2 separate regions of the Homo sapiens genome follow, and region 1 is linked to region 2. The links are contacts of gene promoters, found by promoter capture Hi-C in blood cells and fetal thymus (Javierre and others, 2016). All regions are on one chromosome and are shown on one strand. The core of a region is centred on a gene start or on the middle of the fragment in contact, and the rest is flanking DNA. Distances in the headings are between cores, read along the strand shown. Region 1 overlaps CCDC90B-AS1 (CCDC90B antisense RNA 1). Region 2 holds the start of INTS4 (integrator complex subunit 4).

Region 1 (5,657 bases), core at 2,077-4,576, 5.3 Mb after region 2:
ATAAAAATGCTACTGATTTTTTGTGCATTGATTGTGTATCCTGAAACTTTACTGAATTTGTTTATCAGTTCCAGGGGCCTTTGGGAGAGTCTTTAGGGTTTTCTAGGTGTAGAATCATATCGTTGGCAAAGAGAGATAGTTTACCTTCCTCTCTTCCTATTTGAATATCTTTATTTATTTCTCTTGCCTGATTGCCCTGGCTGGGACTTCCAGTACTATGTTGAATAAGGGTGGTGAGAATGGGCATCCTTTTCTTGTTCCAGTTCTCAAGGGGAATGTGTTTCCAGTTTTGGCCTTTAGCAATTTAGTAATATATTTATGAAACTCCAAAAAGTAAATAGCCAGAGTTTCACTTCTTCTTTTTTTTTTTTTTTTTTGAGACAGAGTCTTGCTCTATCACCCAGGCTGGAGTGCAACGGTGTGATCTTGGCTCACTGCAACCTCAGCCTCCCGGGTTCAAGCAATTCTCCTGCCTCAGCCTCCCAAGTAGCTGGGATTACAGGCATGCGCTGCCACACCCAGCTAATTTTTGTATTTTTAGTAGAGGTGGGGTTTCGCCATGCTGGTCAGGCTGGTCTTGAACTCCTGACCTCAGGTGATCCACCCATCTCGGTCTCTCAGAGTGCTGGGATTACAGGCAACTGTGAGCCACCGCACCTGGCCTAGAGTTTCACTTCTAAGAAGCTATCCATAGTAAATAATCACATCTGTAGCTAAGATTTTTGAAAAGGATGACTATTGCAATGTTATTTATAGTAGTGAAAAATTGAAAATAGTCTAAGTATTCAAAAGTGATTAAATAACTTGCAGAAGTGTCCCAATTTGGAATATTATGCAAGAATTTAGTATTTTTAAAAATAATCTTAGTGACAGGAAAATCCTTAATACATGTATATACATAATTATAATTCTGTATAATTCTTATATACAGGATTATAATTATAATTATATACATGATTATAATTCTGTTAAATGATAGGATCCCTGCTTGGGAGGAGCTAACAGGCTAGTGGAAGATACAGACCAGTAAGTGTTATCACAATATTTTACTTAACTTAAGGAATTATTATGAAAAAAGTGGATCTCTTTATATATTAATTCATGTTACTATTATTTATATTAACATAAAGCTCTCTCTGTAACACACATATACAGTGTTGATTATGTTCTCTTTGATGGAAGTGGCAATTAGATCCAGGGATTCTTAATCATTCTCTGAGGCTGGCTGGAACTATATCAAGTGAGTGCAGGAGCTTGGGTCATCCATAATCTACCATGCAGGCCAGAGAAGCATAGGAAGGAAAAGCAGGAATAGCAGATGAAGTGAGTCCAGATAGTATTCAGCTAATAGATACAGCTCCTCTCTGAGACCTCCTAATGCTCCTGTGTATTTTCAGATTCTCCTTGGTTGCTATTGTTTCTTTGTTAAACATCTTAATTTATAAAAATATTTTTCCATAAATTTGTTAATGTTTTCTCATGTTTGTTGAGAGGAATAGAAAAGATGATGCATCTAAAATACTTAGCACTGGACCTGGCATATACAAGCACCCAATAAACAATAATAATACCTGCTTACTCAGAGTTAGGAAATAATTTCCATGGGTGTCTCATGTTTCTGTATGTTTTACAAATGGAGGTCTTCTCTGCCTTTTGTTGTGGCAGTTTTGTATAACGAACAACCTTAGGAAATATAGCATCTCTCTCTGGAGCAAAAGGCCTCATGCTTACTGCCTATTATAAAAGATTTGTGTTCTCATAGGTCAGGGTTCCTCTCTGTAATGCAATGTACTGTACGTGCTCAGGCATCTACGTAGCCCCAGCTGCATCATCCCCATGAACTTGGGGCCAAGGGGAGCTGACACAAATATGCCGATACTCGTGCTGCTCGCTGCACCATCAGTAATTGGGTTCTTTGTTTCTAGCAAGGAGTCTCATATCTTCTACCAGCATCCATGCAACCATGACAGGATAACTTGATAGCCTGCTAATAGGGTAAGATCTCGGACCCTTCACAATATTATTCTTCTCTGGACTTTTAAACATTTTTCATTTTTCCAGTTTTACTTACAGAAATATCTGAGTGCCAGCTAGGTTTAAGGTTAGATGTGAGGAATGTAAAGAAAACCAGTTCAATCCAACAACTATTCAAGTTCTTACTACGTGCAGGGATTTCTGCTAGGATACGCAAGGATTGCAAAGATTTCTGCTCTCCAGTAATTTGTAATATATTAATAACTGAGAGAATAGAACAAGCATTTTAATAGCCTTCAACACAGAGCTTTAATAGGTTAGTGTCATGTAAATGTTAAGAAAATAATAAATCCTATAATTCAGTTGAAGGTTAAATGCTTTTTGATAATGGTTATCAAGAAGAGATAGGATTTGAACCTTAGGGGTTTTAGTTAGTAGAGGTTGTAAGGCAAGGGGTCCAGGAGAGAGGATTGGAGTGAGCAAGTACAATTTACTCATCGCTTTGCTCCTTCCTACTCAGGGACTTTGCATATGGTAAAGCATCACTACTCAACTTGGAGCTCTTTCTCCTCTTTATCTGGCCAATTCCTTTATATCTTTCAGATTCCAGTTTAAATGGTGACTTTTTAGAGTAACTCTTTAAGAAGTCATTCCCACTCAAACAACATGCAGATTTGGTACTTTTGTTATGGACTCATACAGCAACCCAGCCTTCCCATGTCTCTGCACTTAATATTTGTTTTCTCCATTATGGTAGAGACCATATGTGTCATGGTGTCTCCAGTGCTTATCATGCCTGGGCCATAACAAGCTTTTGGTAAGTGTGTGTTGAATGAATGAGTGAATGTTCAAAATATGGTCATAGTTTGGTGAGGAAACTTCGTAGACTGGGGCATAGGAATTATATGAAGACTGGGTGGAATTGGGGTGAACAAAATGAAAAAGGTAGAATAAAAAAGACTAAGGAAATTGAATTTCATACAGTGGACTTGCAGGAGATTTTGAAATTTTTTGAGCTAAAATAGATAAAAATCAGTTTGAATTTCTTTCTAGAAAATAACTATTTGCCATTTGCTAGTGTAGGCAAATGAATCCTTTCCTCTTCCAATGTCTGATGAGATGGCCTGGACATGAGAAATGCTCCCCTGCTGAAAGCAGCCTAGTTTATCTAAATCTCAAAGGCCAACAGGGTAGCAGGGAAGTGGGTCCTGGTTTTTTTCATTGCAAATAACCACTTTTTTTTTTTTACCTTTATAAGCTCCCATTTAAAACACAGCTTACACTCTTTACCAACAACATGTATGAAGCCACTACTTATTTTCCTATTTTCCATTAATTCAAGATAAGTTACTGTTGGTGAGTGGGAGATAAGCAGTGCTGATTTAACAGTAAGCTGATAAATTTACAGGGGAAGGCGAAGATACTTGCCAATTTCTTCAGTGGTTTCCAATTTCATCTCCAGCAATGATACAATTTTTTGAGGCATTTTAATATGTCCAAATCCTCTTGAGGACCCCATTGCTCCAGTACTCTTTCCTCTGATGTTTAGAGGTCTGGGGTCCCAGCTTGGGCACAATTGTATCAGATGACCAGAGATCACCCAGGACTACGACTATAGCTCTGGTGACTTCACGGAGAGAGAATGCAGCCTGGACCACTCACATGTGTCAGTCATTTTCTCTTGGAATAGGTGATGTGAAGGAATCTCGATGTGTTTTAAAGCCTGTGAATGAGGCATTGAGAAAGAGAGAGCTCTGGACCAAATGGGTTTCATTTTCTTCCTTAGCTTACTTGGAGCTCTTGCCACTAGGGGGAGGATGTGAAAAGAACCAAGGACAATTCTTTGCTTCTTTGCTCTCATCTCTGAAGCTGAGTCAGAGGGCCCATTGTCACAAAAGCTTTGTGTAGCTTTATGTTAATTTCACATTTTGCATGGCTGGAAAGTGACTATCAGCCCGTATTCCCTGAAAATCTGGGGAAATTTTTTTTTTCCTAATTATACAGGGAGGCTGGCAATGACACCCGATTCCGAGTTTGCCCATTAAAATAAATCAAAGAAAAGAATGATTAAAAGAATGGTAGAAAAGAAGAAGAAAGAGCTGTCAAAACATTATATACTTTGCAATGTTACATCATAACCTGGTGTCTCTCATCGATTACTCATTTTTTCTTTGAATGACTATTGAACACTATTTATGGTGCCAGGCACTGTGCTAAGCCATGAAGATATAAACATAAAACACAGTCCTGCTCTCAGATTGTCAACAGTCTATTGTAATAAATATTATGATGAAGGGTAGTATAGGCTGCCAAGGGAATGCATAAGAGAGGCTTATATTACCCTAAGCAGGGATCCGTCGGAAGGCATTAGTTTGAAAGGATGTGTGAAAGACAGTTTGGTTAAATGGATTTGGTGAATGGTGGTGTGGAGTACGTTGTGTGGAAAAGGCAACAGCACTTGCAAAAGCCGGGAAGTGTGTGTGAGAGAGCCTGGTTCATTTGGGAATGGAGAGAATGGCTGGAGCAATGGGTTAAGGGTAGGGAAATTCAGAAGGTGAGGTTGGAAAAGGTGAGGCTGGCCTTCAAGGTCTTTTTTACTTTATCCATGAGTAAGAGGAATCACTGAAGGGCATTAGGCTAGGGAGTAGCTTTGAAAAGAAAGGTGGCCAGGCATGGTGGTTCACCCTGTCATCTCAGCAGTTTGGGAGGCCAAGGTGAGAGGATCAGTGGAGCCCAGGAATTTGAGACCAGCCTGGGCAACATAGCGAGCTCCTGTCTCTATAAAAATTAAAAAAAATTAGCCGGGCAATGGGACACATGCCTGTAGTCCCAGTTACACAGGGGGCTGAGGTGGGAAGATCTCTTGAGCCCAGGAGGTCAAGGCTACAGTGAGCCCTGATTGCACCACTGCACTCCAGCCTGGGCAACAGAGACCCTGTCTCAAAAACGAAAACGAAAAAATGAAAAGAAAAGGAAAAAAACCAAAAGGGTGTTTGCCTGCCCTTTGCTGAGTCCTTCAGCGGTCAAGGCTGTGTATTTCACCTAGATTCCCTGTCCTAGGTACTGATCTGGAAAACCCTAGACATCTGCCCCTTTCCTGGTCAGAGAAGACCCCTGGCCTGGCAGAGCCTACAGCTCCAGCCTCAAGGTACCTGATTGGAGAAGTCCTCCTCATTGTATGACTTGGCTGCCTTGGACCTCACTGGGAAAGACTAGGGAAATAGGATTTTGGGGTCTTGACTTTGGAATTCATTTTCCGCACTGGGGTATAGCAGAGCTGAAAAATCTCACTAAACTCTCAGCATGGTCTGTATCCTTCCTGTCTCCAACAACAAGGTGGGGCATTCTTCCTCAAAAATTCTTCACATGTAGGTGTTGCCTCATCTCTTATCTCACACACATGAGCTCATTTGAGCTCTTTGGCAACTCCGTGAGCTGGGTACCATTGCTCCTGTTTCATAGATGGGAAAACAGGTTCAGAAGGCTGAAGTGACTTGTCCCAGGTCACAGAGCAAGTACGTGGTAGAACTCATAATCGATTGTGCTGCACACTGCATAGATAAGTCACCCCTGTTCCTTCCACCAATTTATTTTAACTGGGTACATGGCACAAATTGTGAAATTATGTGTACTCTTAGGGACACATCATCCCTCATCCTCCAAGAAACTGTTAGTACAGAAGT
Region 2 (5,719 bases), core at 1,453-3,952:
AGGTGTGTGCCACCACACATGGCTAATTTTTGTATTTCTAGTAGAGACAGGTTTTGCCATGTTACCCAGGCTGGTTTCGAACTTCTGGCCTCAAGTGATCCCTCTGCTTCAGTCTCCCAAAGTCCATTCTTTATTAGAAAACAAATATCAGACATGGCATGGTGGCTCATGCCTGTAATCCCAGCACTTTGAGAGGCTTAGGCAGGCGGATCACTTGAGGCCAGGAGTTCAAGACCAGCCTGGCCAACATGGCAAAACCCCATCTCTACTAAAAACACAAAAATTAGCTGGGGGTGGTGGTGTATGCCTGCAGTCCCAGCTATGCAGGAGGCTGAGGATTGCGTGAACCCAGGAGGCAGAAGTTGCAGTGAGCTAGGATTGCGCAACTGCACACCAGTTTGGGCGAAAAGAGCGAAACTCCATCTCAAAACAGAAGAAAAGGAAACAAATATCCGATGGGCGTAGTGGCTTACACCTGAAATCCTAGCACTTTGGGAGGCTGAGGCAGGAGGATCCCTTGAGCCCAGGAGTTCGAGACCAGCCTGGGCAACATGGTGAAATCCTGTCTCTGTTAAAAAATAATAATAAAATAAAATAAATTTCCTTACCACCTAATGGTGCGTTTTTATGTACTGAGCAATCACCTCCTTACAAATTCACATTTCTATAGAAAAGAGAGTAGAATTATTCTAGACAAGAACACAGTATGACATGATAAAAAGAATAAGGACTTTGGAGTCAGAGGAATTTGTATTCAATTACAACTTACTAGCTGGGGAAGGCCTTCTTCTATAGGAGGGCATACCAATACTTTATTATCACAGAGCTAGTCGATAAATCTGTTATTAAACATAACTTTATTATACGTATATGTAAGTGCTAGGCACATATCAGTTCTCCCTCCTCATCTTTTCAGCGGAGAAAAAAGAACAGAAGCACTAAGATCTCATTTAATCACTTTATGTTAACAACTGATGAAAAATTAAGTGAAGAAATTAGCTCTTCCCTTAAAATTCTTAGCCATTTCTATCCTAGTCCTCTCAAACTCAGTTTTCAGTCTTATCGAAGCTGTAGTTAGGTCAAAAGCTAGGAATTTTTTCCCTAAGTATTATATAAGGGAGAGGACAAGCAATATCAACTGTCATTCAACCACCAATAACACTTTAGTGAGCCAGGCCCTATTGTCCATCTCCAGGACACGGAGATGAGCCAGGCATTAGCTCTGCCATCAAGGACCTCCGACTGGTGGGAAGATAGGTACACCGGTAATGACAGCAGCACTGAACAAAAAGTACAAATAGATTAGTACCACAGAATGCTACAGAAACAGGTGAAGAAGAGACTAAGCTCTCGCTGAGGTTTCATTTGGGTCTTGAAGCACAAATGTTAAGTCCACTGGGTGGAGAACAAAAAGAAAGGGAAGAATGGCATGTATTCTGTGAGAAGAGACAACCAGTGCAAGAGTTTTGAGATATGCAAACACAAGAACACATGGCATATCTGGTCATGTGAGGATGGGTGGAAGAGGGCTGAGCAGTCTTGGGAAATGGGAACAACAGAATGTTGGGAAGAGAGGAAATCACATTGTGCAACAGTGCTAATGTTCTTAATGCCACTGAACTTTATACTTAAAATTGTTAAAATTGTAAATTTTATATTATGTATTGACATATTTTGTATTTGTATTAACATATTTTAATGCTGGATGAATGAATCCATGTAATGTTTAAGGATCAGTATCCTGCTGGATGCTCTAAGCCTTGCCACTCTACAAGTCTAAGGATCTAAGAATGCAACCAATGCACTGGTGTAAATTTGGGGGCATGTCAGGAATGCAGAATCTTGCCTCACCTCCTCTGCTTGACTTATCAAATAGAATCGACATTTGAACAACGTCCCCAGGTAATTTGTATACACATTAATATCTGAGAAATAGGACATCAGGATGATTTAGGATCAACCCTAGCAACATCTACGTGGAGACACATGGAGCATCACTGACTCCCGACAGGGACTCTGCCCACCTGTCACAACTTCATGGTGAGGAAGGTACTGCCCTCCTTCCTAGGTGAGCTGTTCTACCAATAGAGAGCTCTTCCCCTATGAAGTCTGTGACCCCCGCCTGCTTAGACTGCGCCTGAAGGAATTCTATAGACCCTTCTTTCAGCCCCTTAGAACCTTGTGTATATTCCAACTGGTCCCTGGGAGGTTTTTTTTTGGAACGGGGGTGCGGGGAGGCTAGAAGGGGCTCTGCTGCTAACTGGCTGTATCCTCGTACCCCTCCGGAAGGCTCAATGTCCACATCTGGAAAACGAGGATGCTAATGTAACGCGATGGAGCAAAGTTGTGTGAGAGAATAAAATGAAATAACGGATAAGACAGTTTCGTAAATTAAAAAACACTGTTTCTCCTAATAATTTTTTTAAAATCCTGTCAGACTTCACATATTAATGACAACAGCGGCTGCAAACTAACACGCCCACTAACTTGCAATATCAGAGATTATCAACAAGTCAGCACTTAACACGGGCGTATGGAGCCTCTTCTGTTCCGGCAAAGTGCCTGGGATTTGGATAATCTACCCTGGTCCGGATCGGTTCTGGATCTTTCCCGCCAGAGCTTACCTGAACCACTTTCGTGAATTCCTCATAAACCCGCTTCTTAAGGTGCGCCGCCATGCCTACCCGCGGGCCCTCTCAGCTTCCGTACACTAGGAGGGAGGCGGGGGTGGACGGATCCGGAAAACTTGCGTAGGCGCGGGGGGTGGGTGGATGACTTGCCGAGATCCCACAAGGCAGTGGGATTTGGGGAAAGAGCGACCGCTTCCTGTTGCTCGACTGCCTCGCCACTGTACGGACTGATTTGGCGGCCTACGCCGGAAGAACGGAAATAAGAGCTTCGCTTGTGGGAGGCGGGGCCTCTGGCGGGAGGAGCTGAGACTGAAAGGGTGGGCAACCCAATGGGAGCTTTGGGAGGCTGGTTGGTGGCCTCGGAGTGGCTAAGAGACTAGCGCGGCGCGGCGCGAAGGGAGGGAGGGAGGAAGTACAGGTTAAAGGGCAGAGGCGGGGTGCTCCAGAGCTAGAGGCAAAACCCGGAGCTCTGTAAGGGGTTTACGACTCGTGAAAAAACTCAGAGGCTCGGCTGACTTTCCCATCATCCTTTGCTGTACACGATGCTGTTTGTAGGTTTCCTGAGCACTGCCTTTGTTCAAGCTGTGCGCCACCTCTCTTGTTTTGGGGTGCCTTTCCATACTTCCTTATTCCAGTTTTGCAAAAGCTGCCATCCTTTAAGGCATCAATCCCTGCTCTGATAGCTATAGTACAGTAGAAGACTTCTGAGACCAAGGATAAAGCAACAAAGCTACAGACTACAGCTCTGGTTCTTGAGCAAATGGCTCAACTACAAATGCATTTATAATAACTAACCTGACAAAGATGTGACAATGGAGTGAAATAATGCAGGAACATTTTACGGACTGTAAGGTGTAGTGCACATGTTAGTGTCAGTAAATCCAAGGTCAAGTTTTACAACCTACATGAAACTAGCTGTTCATTATTTTGGTCTTTCAAAAGAATGTGGGCCAGGCGCGGTGGCTCATGCCTGTAATCCCAATACTTTGGCAGGCCGAGGCGGATGGATCACTTGAGGTCAGGAGTTCGAGACCAGCCTGGCCAACATGGGGAAACCCCGTCTCTACTAAAAATACAAAAATTAGTCGGGGCATGGTGGCACACGCCTGTAATCCCAGTTTCTTGGGAGGTTGAGGCAGAAGAATCACTTGAACATGGGAAGCGGAGGTTGCAGTGAGCCGAGATCGCGCCACTGCACTCCAGCCTGGGCGACTGAGCGAGACTCCGTTATCAAAAAAAAAAAAAAAGAATTAATGTGGGATAGTTTAAAAAAAAAAAAGCAGGAGGCTGAGGTGGATACAGAGGACCCAAAAATAAACAAAAGATAGTATTTATCCTCAAGGTCCTACAATCTGAGAAGACAGACACCCAAACTGATGGTGACAGTGCAACTGAAATGTGCTGGGTAACGGGAATGAATGTGGTTCAAACAGACCTAATTTCTTCAGAGTGCCTCAGGGAAGGCTTTCCTAAAATTAGAGGAAACTGGGAGTGGTGGCTCACGCCTATAATCCCAGCACTTTGAGAGGCCGAGGCGGGCAGATCACCTAGTTCAGAAGTTTTGAGACCAGCCTGGGCAACATGGCGAAATCTACTTTAAAAATACAAAATTTAGCTGGGCATGATGGTGGCCCACGCCTGAAGTCCCAGCTACTCTGGAGGCTGAGGCGGGAAAATCGCTTGGGCCTGGGATGTGGAGGTTGCAGTGAGCCGAGATCCAGCCACTGCACTCCAGCCTGGGCAACGGAGTGAGACCCTGTCTCCAAAAAAAAAAAAAAAAAAAAAAAAGGCTGGGCGCGGTGGCTCACCCCTATAATCCCAACACTTTGGGAGGCCGAGGCAGGCGGATCACCTGAGGTCGGGAGTTCGAGACCAGCCTGGCCAACATGGTGAAACCCCGTCTCTCCTAAAAATACAAAAACTAGCCGGGCGTCGGGGTGGGTGACTGTAATCCTAGCTACACGGGAGGCTGAAGCAGGAGAATCGTTTGAACCCAGGTGGCAGCGGCTGCAGTGCGCCGAGATCGGGCCTCTGTACTCCAGCCTGAGCAACAGAGCGAGACTCTGTCTCAAGAAAAAAAAAAGAAAAAAAAAGGAAACTATTTCTAATGCAGCTTTAAAAGAATGAGTTTTTCCAGAAACAAAGGCATCCCAGACCGCCGAGATAAGATATACAAATATGTCAAGGGAAATGAAAAACATTTAGCAAACAGTACCTTTAATAAAGCTTAGCTGCTATTATTACCATTATCATATTCTATCAAATCTAAGCTGCCAGCAATTGTAAAATCAATATTTTATTTATTATGTTAAGAAAAGAAATGCTGAAATTAAATACAATGGTTTCTAATTGCTTAGATTTGTTATGTATACTTACAGAAACAGCTCTTTTTAACTTATTTAGACATAGATTTGTATCTTACCTCGCACTGCTGTTTCCATGTCTTCCTGTGCACATAAGAACTTTTTAATGCCAAATTATAGGGTAATCTATTTGGAGATATATTTAATAGTAATTTAAAATAACACATGTAATTCCAAAATTGCACAGAGCTCAGTCGAAGCGATGACACCATGAACTGCTACGACTCAGTATACATATGAGCGATTGGCCAACATCTCCTGATTTCGGAGACATTAAATGTGCATCATAGCATCAATGATACAGAGTATTATCATCGTTATTAAATACATGGCGGCCAGGTGCGGTGGCTCACACCTGTAATCCCAGCACTTTGGAAGACCAAGGTGAGAGGATAGCTTGAGCTCAGGAGTTGGAGACCAGCCTGGGCAACATGGTGAAAACCTATCTCTACCAAAAATACAAAAAATTAGCTGGGCGTGGTGGCATATGCCTGTAGTGCCAGCTACTCGGGAGGCTGAGGTAGGAAGATTGCTTGAGCCCGCTTGGCAGAGATTGCAGTAGCTGAGATCGCACCACTGCACTCCAGCCTGGGTGACAGAATGAGACCCTGTCTCAAAATAATAAATAAATAAATAAATAAATAAATAAATGGCTTTAGGAAGGAGTTTGGTGCATTCCGAAAACCAAAGGAACTTCAGTTCATGTTGAAAGTTAAGTGCATGCAG

What was found. The method cuts DNA at HindIII sites, captures the fragments that hold promoters and counts their contacts. A CHiCAGO score of 5 or more calls a contact.
Region 1: a fragment that was not itself captured here is called in contact with the fragment with the promoter of INTS4 in region 2 in 1 of 17 cell types (non-activated CD4 T cells); the score reaches 5.2 in non-activated CD4 T cells.

The regions. Positions count from the first base shown.
Region 1 is chr11:83,289,361-83,295,017 of GRCh38, forward strand. All of the region lies in intron 1 of CCDC90B-AS1 (CCDC90B antisense RNA 1), which reads left to right. Among named protein-coding and RNA genes, the nearest start is that of CCDC90B, 5.8 kb to the left of the region's middle. The HindIII fragment of the contact is 1,087 bases long and covers 2,784-3,870 here.
Region 2 is chr11:77,991,966-77,997,684 of GRCh38, forward strand. It overlaps INTS4 (integrator complex subunit 4), which reads right to left and starts at 2,703. Exons shown (of 23, transcript NM_033547.4): 1 at 2,625-2,703. The coding sequence starts at 2,678. RefSeq lists an enhancer at 2,618-2,817 and a silencer at 3,018-3,087. The HindIII fragment of the contact is 5,814 bases long and covers 1-4,854 here.